Regions from separate parts of the Homo sapiens genome. Here region 1 is linked to region 2. The links are contacts of gene promoters, found by promoter capture Hi-C in human tissues and cell types (Jung and others, 2019). All regions are on one chromosome and are shown on one strand. The core of a region is centred on a gene start or on the middle of the fragment in contact, and the rest is flanking DNA. Distances in the headings are between cores, read along the strand shown. Region 1 overlaps SMC5-DT (SMC5 divergent transcript). Region 2 holds the start of FXN (frataxin).

Region 1 (6,420 bases), core at 3,036-5,535, 1.2 Mb before region 2:
TAGGTAGGTTGCCTGTTCACTCTGATGACAGTCTCTTTTGCTGTGCAGAAGCTCTTTAGTTTAATTAGAACCCATTTGTCAATTTTGGCTTTTGTTGCCATTGCTTTTGGTGTTTTAGACATGAAGTCCTTGCCCATGCCTATGTCCTGAATGGTACTGCCTAGATTTTCTTGTAGGGTTTTTATGGTTTTAGGTCTAACGTTTAAGTCTTTAATCCATCTTGAATTAATTTTTGTACAAGGTGTAAGGAAGGGATCCAGTTTCAGCTTTCTACATATGGCTAGCCAGTTTTCCCAGCACTGTTTATTGAATAGGGAATCCTTTCCCCATTTCTTGTTTTTGTCAGGTTTGTCAAAGACCAGATGGTTGTAGATGTGCGGTGTTATTTCTGAGGCCTCTGTTCTGTTCCATTGGTCTATATCTCTGTTTTGGTACCAGTACCATGCTGTTTTGGTTACTGTAGCTTGTAGTATAGTTTGAGGTCAGGTAGCGTGATGCCTCCAGCTTTGTTGTTTTGGCTTAGGATTGTCTTGGCAATGTGTGCTCTTTTTTGGTTCCATATGAACTTTAACGTAGTTTTTTCCAATTCTGTGAAGAAAGTCATTGGTAGCTTGATGGGGTTCAATATATATTGAATCTATATATTACTTTGGGCAGTATGGCCATTTTCACAATATCGATTCTTCCTATCCATGAGCATGGAATATTCTTCCATTTGTTTGTGTCCTCTTTTATTTTGTTGAGCAGTGGTTTGTAGTTCTCCTTGAAGAGGTCCTTCACATCCCTTGTAAGTTGGATTCCTAGGTATTTTATTCTCTTTGAAGCAATTGTGAATGGGAGTTCACTCATGATTTGGCTCTCCGTCTGTTAATGGTGTATAGGAATGCTTGTGAAATGGTGTATAGGAATGCTTGCGATTTTTGGACATTGATTTTGTATCCTGAGACTTTGCTGAAGTTGCTTATCAGCTTAAGGAGATTTTGGGCTGAGACAGTGGGGTTTTCTAAATATATGATCATGTCATCTGCAGAAAGGGACAATTTGACTCCCTTATTTCCTAATTGAATACCCTTTATTTCTTTGTCTTGTCTGATTACCCTGGCCAGAACTTCCAACACTATGTTGAATAGGAATGGTGAGAGAGGGCATCCTTGGCTTGTGCTGGATTTCAAAGGGAATGCTTCCAGTTTTTGCCCATTCAGTATGATACTGGCTGTGGGTTTGTAATAAATAGTTCTTATTATTTTGAGGTATGTCACATGAATACCTAGTTTATTGAGAGTTTTTAGCATAAAGGGGTGTTGAATTTTATTGAAGGCCTTTTCTACATCTATTGAGATAATCATGTGGTTTTTGTTGTTGCTTCTGTTTATGTGATGGAATACATTTATTGATTTGCATATGTTGAACCAGCCTTGCATCCCAGTGATGAAGCCGACTTGATCGTGGTGGATAAGCTTTTTGATGTGCTGCTGGATTCGGTTTGCCAGTTTTTTATTGAGGATTTTTGCATTGATGTTCATCAGGGATATTGGTCTAAAATTCTCTTTTTTTGTTGCGTCTCTGCCAAGCTTTGGTATCAAGATGATGTTGGTCTCATAAAATGAGTTAGGGAGGATTCCCTCTTTTTCTATTGATTGGAATAGTTTCAGAAGGAATGGTACCAGCTCCTCTTTGTACCTCTGGTAGAATTTGGCTGTGAATCCGTTTGGTCCTGGACTTTTTTTGATTGGTAGGCTATTAATTATTGACTCAATTTCAGAGTCTGTTATTTATCTATTCAGAGATTCCCCTTCTTCCTCGTTTAGTCTTGGGAGGGTGTATGTGTCCAGGAATTTACCCATTTCTTCTTGAGTTTCTAGTTTATTTGCATAGAGGTGTTTATAGTATTCTCTGATGGTAGTTTGTATTTCTGTGGGATCGGTGGTGATATCCCCTTTATCATTTTTTATTGTGTCTATTTGATTTTTCTGTCTTTTCTTCTTTATTAGTCTTGCTAGAGGTCTATAAATCTTGTTGATCTTTTCAAAAAACCAGCTCCTGGATTCATTGATTTTTTGAAGGGTTTTTTGTGTCTCTATCTCCTTCAGTTCTGCTCTGATCTTAGTTGTTTCTTGCCTTCTGCTAGATTTTGAATTTGTTTGCTCCTGCCTGTCTAGTTGTTTTAATTGTGATGTTAGGGTGTCAATATTAGATCTTTCCTTCTTTCTCTTGTGGGCATTTAGTGCTATAAATTTCCCTCTACACACTGCTTTAAATGTGTCCCAGAGATTATGGTACGTTGTGTCTTTGTTCTCATTGGTTTTAAGGAACATCTTTATTTCTGCCTTCATTTCATTATTTACACAGTAGTCATTTAGGAGCAAGTTGTTCAGTTTCCATGTAGTTATGCAGTTTTGAGTGAGTTTCTTAACCCTAAGTTCTAATTTCATTGCACTGTGGTCTGAGAGACAGTTTGTTGTGATTTCTGTTGTTTTACATTTGCTGAGGAGTGCTGTATTTGCAATTATGTGGTCAGTTTTAGAATAAGTGCGATGTGGTGCTGAGAAGAATGTATATTCTGTTGATTTGGGGTGGAGGGTTCTGTAGGTATCTATTAGGTCTGCTTGTTGCAGAGCTGGGTTCAAGTCCTGGATACCCTTTTTTAACCTTCTGTCTCATCGATCTGTCTAATACTGACAATGGGGTGTTAAATTCTCCCATTATTATTGTGTGAGAGTCTAAGTCTCTTCGTAGGTCTCTAAGGACTTGCTTTATGAATCTGGTTGTTCCTGTATTGGGTGCATATATGTTTAGGATAGTTAGCTCTTCTTGTTGAATTGATCCCTTTACCATTATGTAATGGGCTCTTTGTTTCTTTTGATCTTTGTTGGTTTAAAGTCTGTTTTATCAGAGACTAGGATTGCAACCCCTGGTTTTCTTTGCTTTCGATTTGCTTGGTAAATTTTCCTCCCTCCCTTTATTTTGAACCTATGTGCGTCTTTGCATGTGAGATGGGTCTCCTGAATACAGCACACTGATGTCTTGACTGTTTATCCAATTTGCCAGTCTGTGTCTTTCAATTGGCGCATTCAGCCTATTTACATTTAAGGTTAATATTGTTACGTGTGAATTTGATCCTGTCATTATGATGTTTACTGGTTATTATGCCCGTTAATTGATGCAGTTTCGTCATAGCATCAATGGTCTTTACAATTTGGCATGGTTTTTCAGTGGCTTGTACCAGTTTCTTTCCATGTTTAGTGCTTCCTTCAGGAGCTCTTGTAGGGCAGGCCTGGTGGTGACAAAATCTCTGAGCATTTGCTTGTCTTTAAAGGATTCTATTTCTCCTTCACTTACGAAGCTTAGTTTGGCTGGAAATGAAATTCTGGGTTGAAAATTCTTTAAGAATGTTGAATACTGGCCCCCACTCTCTTCTAGCTTGTAGGTTTTCTGCCGAGAGATCCGCTGTTTGTTTGATGGGCTTCCCTTTTTGGGTAACTCGACCTTTCCCTCTGGCTGCCCTTAACACTTTTTCCTTCATTTCAACCTTGGAGAATCTGACAGTTATGTGTCTTGGAGTTGCTCTTGTTGAGGAGTATCTTTGTGGTGTTCTCTGTATTTCCTGAATTTGAATGTTGGCCTGTCTTGCTAGGTTGGGGAAGTTCTCCTGGATAATATCCTGAAGACCGTTTTCCAGCTTGGTTCCATTCTCCCCACCACTTTCAGGTACACCAATCAAATGTAGATTTGGTCTTTTCACAGAGTTCCATATTTCTTGATGGCTTTGTTTGTTTCTTTTACTCTTTTTTCTCTAACCTTGTCTTCTTGCTTTATTTCATTAATTTGATCTTCAATCACTGATACCCTTTCTTCCACTTGATTGAATCAGCTCTTGAAGCTTCTGCATGTGTCGTGAAGTTCCCGTGCCATGGTTTTCATCTCCATCGGATCATTTAAGATCTTCTCTACACTGTTTATTCTAGTTAGCCATTCGTCTAATCTCTTTTCAAGGTTTTTAACGTCTTTGCGATGGGTTCGAACATCCTCCTTTAGCTCCAAGAAATTTGTTATTACCGACCTTCTGAAGCCTACTTCTGTCAGCTCATCAAAGTCATTCTCCATCCAGCTTTGTTCCGTTGCTGGTGAGGAGCTATGATCCTTTGGAGGAGAAGAGGTGCTCTGATTTTTAGAATTTTCAGCTTTTCTGCTCTGGTTTCTCCCCATCTTTATGATTTTAGCTACCTTTGGTCTTTTATGTTGGTGACCTACAGATAGGATTTTGGTGTAGATTACCTTTTTGTTGATGTTGATGCTATTCCTTTCTGTTTGTTAGTTTTCTTCTAACAGTCAGGTCCCTCAGCTGCAGGTCTGTTGGAGTTTGCTGAAGGTCCATTCCTGACTCTGTTTGCCTGGGTATCACCAGTGGAGGCTGCAGAACAGCAAGTATTGCAGAACAGCAAATACTGCTATCTGATCCTTCCTTTGGAAGCTTTGTCTCAGAGGGGCAACTGCCTATATGAGGTGTCTGTTGGACCCTACTGGAGGTGTTTCCCAGTTAGGCTACATGGGGGTCAGGGACCCACTTGAGGAAGCTGTCTGTCTGTTCTCAGAGCTCAGACACTGTGCTGGGAGAACCACTGTTCTCTTCAGAGCTGTCAGACAGGGACGTTTAAGTTGCAGAAGTTGTCTGCTGCCTTTTATTCAGCTATGCCCTGCCCACAAAGGTGGAGTCTAGAGCAGTAGGCCTTGTTGAGCTGCGGTGGGTTCCTCCCAGTTCGAACTTCCCAGCCACTTTGTATACCTACTCAAGCCTCAGCAATGGCGGATGCCCCTCCCCCAGCCAGGCTGCCCCCTTCGCAGTTCGATCTCAGACTGCTGCGCTAGCAGTGAGCAAGGCTCTGTGGGCGTGGGACCTGCTAAGCCAGGCACAGGAGAGAATCTCCTTGTCTGCCGGTTGCTAAGACCTTGGGAAAAGCGCAGTATTTGGGTGGCAGTGTCCCGTTTTTCCAGGTGGTCTGTCACGGCTTCCCTTGGCTAGGAAAGGGAAATCCCCCAACCCCTTGCAATTCCTGAGTGAGGCAATGCCTCGCCCTGCTTCAGCTTGCCCTCTGTGGGCTGCACCCACTGTCCAACCAGTCCCAATGAGATGAACCAGGTACCTCAGTTGGAAATGCAGAAATCACCCGTCTTCTGCATTGATCATGCTGGGAGCTGCAGACTAGAGCTGTTCCTGTTTGGCCATCTTGGAACGCCCTCCTCTTAAGTTAATTTTTTAAGGTAATAAAATTCTCTCTGTATTAATTTAGCCACACCTCACAAATTTTGATACATAGTACTTTACCATGATACGTATATATATACACATATTGTCATACATTTATATGCATATCTATAAAATACATGATTTCTTCTTTTTTTTAATTATACTTCAAGTTCTTTAGTGCATGTGGAGAACGTGCAGGTTTGTTACATAGGTATACACATGCCATGGTCATTTGCTGTACTCATCAACCTGTCATCCACATTAGGTATTTCTCCTAATGCTGTCCCTCCCCTAGGCCCCCACCCTCAAACAGGCCCCGGTGTGTGATGTTCCCTTCCCTGTGTCCATGTGTTCTCATTGATCAACTCTCACTTATGAGTGAGAACATGCAGCATTTGGTTTTCGGTTCTTGTGTTAGTTTGCTGAGAATGATGGTTTCCAGTGTCATCCATGTCCCTCCAAAGGACATGAACTCATTCTTTTTTATGGCTGCATAGTATTCCATGGTGTATATGTGCCACATTTTCTTTATCCAGTCTATTATTGATGGGCATTTGGGTTGGTTCCAAGTATTTGCTATTGTGAACAGTGCCACAATAAACATACGTGTGCATGGTCTTTATAGTAGAATGATTTATAATCCTTTGGGTGTATACTCAATAATACGATGGCTGGGTCAAATAATATTTCCAGTTCTAGATCCTTGAGGAATCGCCACACTGTCTTCCACAATGGTTGAACTAATTTACACTCCCACCAACAGTGTAAAAACATTTCTATTTCTCCACATCCTCTCCAGCATCTGTTGCTTCCTGACTTTTTAATGATCGCCATTCGGACTGGTGTGAGATGGTATCTTCTCATGGTTTTGATTTGCATTTCTCTAATGACCACTGATGATGAGCTTTTTTTTTCATATGTTTGTTGGCTGCATAAATGTCTTCTTTTGGGAAGTGTCCGTTCATATCTTTTGCCCACTTTTTGATGGAGTTTTTTTTCTTGTAAATTTGTTTAAGTTCTTTGTAGATTCTGGATATTAGCCCTTTGTCAGATGAGTAGATTGCAAAAATTTTCTCCCATTCTGCAGGTTCCTGTTCACTCTGATGGTAGTTTCTTTTGCTGTGCAGAAGCTCTTTAGTTTAATTAGATCCCATTTGTCAATTTTGGCTTTTGTT
Region 2 (6,020 bases), core at 2,145-4,644:
GAGTAGCTGGGATTACAGGTGAGTGCCACCACATCCAGCTAATTTTTGTATTTTTAGTAGAGACGGGGTTTCACCATGTTGGCCAGGCTGGTCTCAAACTCCTGACCTCAGGTGATCCGCCCATCTCAGCCTCCCAAAGTGCTGGGATTACAGGTGTGAGCAACCACACCCAGCCTAGGAGACATTTAAGTGTGTTTGGAACAACTTGACTATGTGAACCTTCATTTTTAATTGTGAATTTTATAAAAGTAAATACAGATAGAGCATTTACTTAGAAATTGTGAATTGAGATATGCTGGAAGTATATGAGTACGAAAAGAGTATGCAAGATATCTTATTACTGATTTTTTTTGTATGTCACAGAATCCCCCAAAATCTTGGCTCACTGCAACCTCTGCCTCCTGGGCTCAAGTGATTCTCATGCCTCAGCCTCCCGAGTAGCTGGGACTACAGGCACCCACCACCATGCTGAGCTAGTTTTTAGTAGAGATGGGGTTTCACCATGTTGGCCAGGCTGGTCTTGAACTCCTGATCTCAGATGATCCACTCGCCTCGGCCTCCCAAAGTCCTGGGATTACAGTCGTGAGCCACCGTGCCTGGTCTCATTACTGATTTTTAAAATACTGATTACATGTTGGAATGATAATATTTTGTATGTACTAGGTTGAATAAATATATTGTTGAAAATGATTTTTTTTTCTTTTTAACTAGAAAATGTAGAATTATGTGTGTGGCTCCCATTCTGTTTCTGTTGAACAGCTGCTTTAGAAGTAGATGCAAGGGGTGGAGAAAAGGGTGGGGAAGAGGCCTTCAAGTGAACTCAGTTTCTGATGAATTTTGGAGACCAGGGGGAGCTTAGGGTCAATCCAGGACAGTCAGGGCTTTAAAATAATTAAACAGGATGGTGGCCCCAGTTGCCACTGCCACCCACCCAACTCCTCAAATACCCAAGATGTGCAAGGGAACTATGGAACAGACAGGTTAAACAAATGTGATTAATTCAGTATAGAAAAAAAGAGGCCCAGCTGGTGACAGAGGTTGCTAACCATCTATCCAGAAACCCAGTGTCCACCTCCTGGGCGGCAGCGCCAAGTTGGGTGTGTTTGTCAGTCAATAGCCCTTAACAGCCACCAGGTACCATCTAAAAAACTGTACCACCTCTTGTCATTCTCCTAAATTAAAAACTCTGCTGATGGCCAGACGCGGTGGCTCACGCCTGTAATTCCAGCACTTTGGGAGGGCGAGGTGGGCGGATCACCTGAGGTTGGGAGTTCGAGACCAGCCTGACCAACATGGAGAAATCTGTCTCTACTAAAAATACAAAATTAGCCGATAATCCCAGCTACTCGGGAGGCTGAGGCAGGAGAATCACTTGAACCCAGGAGGCAGAGGTTGCAGTGAGCTGAGACTGAGCCACTGCACTCCAGCCTGGGCAACAAGAGGGAAACTCTGTCTCAAAAAAACAAAACAAAACACAACTCTGCTGACAACCCATGCTGTCCACACAGGCAGGGGTGGAAGCCCAATACGTGGCAGCTCAGATAGTGCACAGAAGCCAAGTAATAAATGTCTGCTTTCCTAGAGGAGATCTAAGGACCATCATGGCCACACTTGCCTATTTTTCCAGAGATGCTGGGAAATCCATTTTATTTTTTATTTTTATTTATTATTATTATTTTTTGAGACGGAGTCTTGCTCTGTCGCCCAGGCCGGAGTGCATTGGGCGATCTTGGCTTAATGCAACCTCTGCCTCCCGGGCTCAAGCGATTCTCCTGCCGCAGCCTCTGGAGTAGCTGGGATTACAGGCGCGCGACACCACGCCCGGCTAACTTTTCTTTATTTTCTTCTTCTTCTTCTTCTTTTTTTTTTTTTTTTGTATTTTTTAGTAGATACTGGGTTTCACCATGTTGGCCAGGTTAGTCTTGAACTCCGGACCTCAGGTGATCCACCTTCCTAGGCCTCCCAAAGTGCTGAGATTATGGGCATGAGCCACCGCGTCCTGCCAGGAAATCCATTTTCTAAGTCCTAACTTTTAAGCACTGGCAACCAATCCCAAAGTTTCTTCAAACACAATGTGGGCCAAATAACACGTGTGGGAAGTTCAAGCCTAAAGTACAAACTCCGGAGAGCAACACAAATATGGCTTGGACGTGGCCTGCCTCTTTCATCTCCCCTAATACATGCGGCGTACCAGCCACTCTGAAGGGATCCCCTTCCGCCTTCCTGGCCTTTGCCCAGACGGTTCCCTCCTCGTGAAACACCCTCTACCACTTCCTTGGCATCTTCAAGACCCTCATTAAATACCATGTCCTCCCCTTGAGGAATCTTCCTCATCCCCACAGCCATTCTTTGGGTTTCCTCCTTTCAAGCCGTGGCGTAACTGGGTCAGATATTTCTTTGTACCCCCCAAAGGAAGAAAGGGGAACTAATTTGAAGTTCTGAAGACTTTATCTATGTTATTCCCATTTAATCCTCACACCAGGTCCGCAAAATGGGCGTCACCTTTATCTTCTCCCTACAGAAAACAAAGCCACGTCTCAGAGAGGTTAGGGGAATCCCCCAAGGTCACACAGCTCTGCGGAGTGGGGCAGAATCTGGAATAAAGGTCGGGTCAGTTTCCAAAAGCCAGGGCCCCTGCTGCTCTAGCTATTCTGCAGCTCTGAAAGTTTCACCTCGTTCCAGGAAAGCATTTCGTTCAAAAAAATCCAGCCTTGAAAATATTAGGTGTGCGCGCGCCCGTGCGCGCAAACACACACACACAACACACACGCTATATACAGATACACACAGACACACACATTATGTGTATGTATATACTAGCAGATACCATCTATTAATATTACTGAAACAAGTTATCGCAGAGAAGTGACAAGCATGGAGACAGCCGCACACCCCTCGGAACCGGTCCCCTCCACCAGCCTGCCCTGCCTTCGCCCGTGCCTTGACCCGCAGTCGCACCGCAGGACAAAATGTCCCCTTTTCCTTCGGAAAGCAGAAGCCAGTGTAAATGCAACCGGGAGAACCAGAGAAGGGAGTTGCAAGGCCGCTTCCGCCGGGCCGCCCTGAGAAGGAGCGGGGTGAGCTAGTCCAGCGCGCGTACCCGGAGCGACCCCGGCGTGCGCGGCGCCTCCCTGCGCAGGCGTGCGGCGTGCGGCCCGCGGCGTGCGGCCCGCGGCTGTTCCCGGCGCGGATACTTACTGCGCGGCGGGGCGTGCAGGTCGCATCGATGTCGGTGCGCAGGCCACGGCGGCCGCAGAGTGGGGCCAACTCTGCCGGCCGCGGGACCCGGGTGAGGGTCTGGGCCTGGGCTGGGCTGGGTGACGCCAGGAGGCCGGCTACTGCGCGGCGCCCGAGAGTCCACATGCTGCTCCGGGTCTGCCGCCCGCTCCGCCCTCCAGCGCTGGGTGCTGCGGCGACCCCTGGTGGCCACTGGCCGCAGGCACTCTTCTGTGGGGGAGCAGCTAGAGGTTAGACCTCAGGAAGAACTTCCCAGCTTAGCACTATTCGTGCATTTAACAAAAATGGAGAGCCTGCTTTGTGCAAAGCACGGAGTGCAACCAGGACCCCTGACCCAAGGGAGACTGCAGCCTGGTGGCCCGCCGCTTCTAAAATTCTAAACAGGAGGAACTTGGGAGCTGCTGTCTTGCTGGGAAGTGGGTGCATGCACAAATTGAGGCTGCTTGGCCGCCGGTATGGGTTTACAGCAGTTGGGTATGTGGGGCCAGGAGACGGATGCCTTGTGTAAATCTGTACTCTGCCCACTTCCTAGCTGTGTGACCAGAGGGCAAGTTAATTAACCTCTCTGTGCCTTGTTTATAAAATGCGTTTTATAAAAGTTCCTACTTCATAGGATTGTGGTAAGGATAAAATGAGTTAAGCCCTGTAAAGTTTTTTTTGGACAGGGCATGTTCCTGTTAAGTGCACAATAAATATTGTTAATAGATTTTATTGATTGATTGATTGATTGAGACGGAGTCTCGCTCTGTCGCCCAGGCTGGAGGGCAGTGGTGCGATCTCGGCTCACTGCAAGCTCTGCCTCCCGGTTTCACGCCATTCTCCTGCCTCAGCCTCCCGAGTAACTGGGACTACAGGCGCCCGCCACCATGCCTGGCTAATTTTTTGTATTTTTTTTTTTTTTTAGTAGAGACGGGTTTCACCGTGTTAGCCAGGATGGTCTCGATCTACTGACCTCGTGATCCACCCGCCTCATTTATTTGTTTGTTTGAGACAGAGTCTCACTCTGTTGCCCAGGCTGGAGTGCAGTGGTGTGGTCCTGGCTTACTGCAACTTCTCCCTCCCGGGCTCAAGCAGTCTTCCCATTTCAGCCTTCCAAGTAGCTGGGACTACAGGTGTGCACCACCACACCCAGCTAGTTTTTGTATTTTTTGTAGAAAGGGGGTTTCGCTATGTTGCCCAGGGTGGTCTTGAACTTCTAGGCTCAAACGATCTGCCCGCCTGGGCCTCACAAAGTGCTGAGACGACAGGCGTGAGCCACCGTGCCTTGCCTATTGTTGATAGATTTTAAAAGAGAATTTTATTTCTGTTACATATTACAAAGGGATGCAAATTGTGAAAGTTTTCTTCACATTTTATATATGCTTTAGAGGATGTCAAATGTGAGCCGAGTGTGGTAGTGCATGCCTGTGATCTCAGCTACTCAGGAGGCTGAGGCGGGAGGATCACTTGAGCCTGGGAGCTCAAGGCTGCAGTGAGCTATGATTGTGCCTGTGAATAGCCACAGCATTCCAGCCCGGCCATCATAGCAAGATACTGTCTTAAAAAAAAAGAAAATGTCAGTTGTGTACACTTTCCATGGCAGAGAAGATGGGAAGGTACTAAAGTTCTTCCAAAGCCACTTTGTGAATCGTGAAGAGAGACATGTTTACATACTTAGGATGCTAAATGACAAGTGTCAAGAGGAATGTAAACTAACAGGTGTGAGTGTTGAGTGGGAGATTTATATAGAGCTAGGGATGGGGGAATCAAGGAAGTATTCATGGAAGAAGTGGTGTTGGCACAGGGCCTTCAAAAATAGGGTGGAGGAGGTGGGATCTGATTGCCTATCAAAGAGGTGGTCCAGGGCATTCTGGATGAGAGACATCCTTCTGTGTTTAATTAATTCTAGGCAGCTGCTTAAATACTGTTATGTATATGCCAGGCCTGGAGAAATCATTTTCCCCCTGCAAAGTATCTGGAGATGCTTTTGATTGTCACAACAGGCAGCTGTGGGGTGGGTATGTTCTACTGGCATCTAGTAGGTAGAGGCCAGGGATGAAACATCCTGTGATGTGCAGGACAGCCCCCCACCTGTGCAACAAAGAACTATCCAGTCCAAAATTCTGCCAAGATTGAGAAGCCCTCCTTGAAACCATAAAGGGAGAGCCCATAGGCATCAAAGGGTAGTGTTTTCATTGCCAGCCATGGTCTCAGACTCTGCCACACCAACAGTGAGGCCCTTCCTCACATCATCAGAACTGCATTATATACTCAGAGAGAGAAAGCTGCATCATTAGTTATTATTATTATTATTATTTGAGACAGAGTCTTGCTTTGTTGCCCAGGCTGGAATGCAGTGGTGCCATCTCTGCTCACTGCAATCTCCACCTCCTGGGTTCAAGAGATTCTGTCTCAGCCTCCAGAGTAGCTGGGATTGCAGGTGCCCACCACCACGCCTGGCTAATTTTTGTATTTTTAGTAGAGATGGGGTTTCATCATGTTGGCCAGGCTGGTCTCGAACTCCTGACCTCAGGTGATCCGCCCGCCTCGGCCGCCCAAAGTGCTGAGATTACAGGCGTGAGCCACCGCACCCTGTGCTACATCATTATTAGCTAGCATGCTTAGCAAGTTCTGGCATAGAAAGGTCACTAGCAAATGCTCCAGCTCCCTGCAAAGTTGATATCATTGCCCCATCTTTTTGGCCAAAGAAATAGACATAGAATAGCATATCAGAGAAGACGAAGGCTTCGCAAGAACTTGTCTTTCTCCACTTCCTTGGAGGTAGTCAAGAGGAATCAGGCACA

The links. The method cuts DNA at HindIII sites, captures the fragments that hold promoters and counts their contacts. A contact is called where the count stands out against the background at its distance.
Region 1: a fragment that was not itself captured here is called in contact with the fragment with the promoter of FXN in region 2 in 1 of the 25 tissues and cell types used here (dorsolateral prefrontal cortex).

Annotation. Positions count from the first base shown.
Region 1 is chr9:70,239,124-70,245,543 of GRCh38, reverse strand. The region is part of intron 2 of SMC5-DT (SMC5 divergent transcript); the gene reads left to right. Among named protein-coding and RNA genes, the nearest start is that of SMC5-DT, 17 kb to the left of the region's middle. The HindIII fragment of the contact is 3,655 bases long and covers 2,458-6,112 here.
Region 2 is chr9:69,033,126-69,039,145 of GRCh38, reverse strand. FXN (frataxin) reads right to left here and starts at 3,394. Exons shown (of 5, transcript NM_000144.5): 1 at 3,199-3,394. The coding sequence starts at 3,363. RefSeq lists silencers at 2,159-2,453, 3,036-3,505 and an enhancer at 2,826-2,875. The HindIII fragment of the contact is 19,714 bases long and covers 1-6,020 here.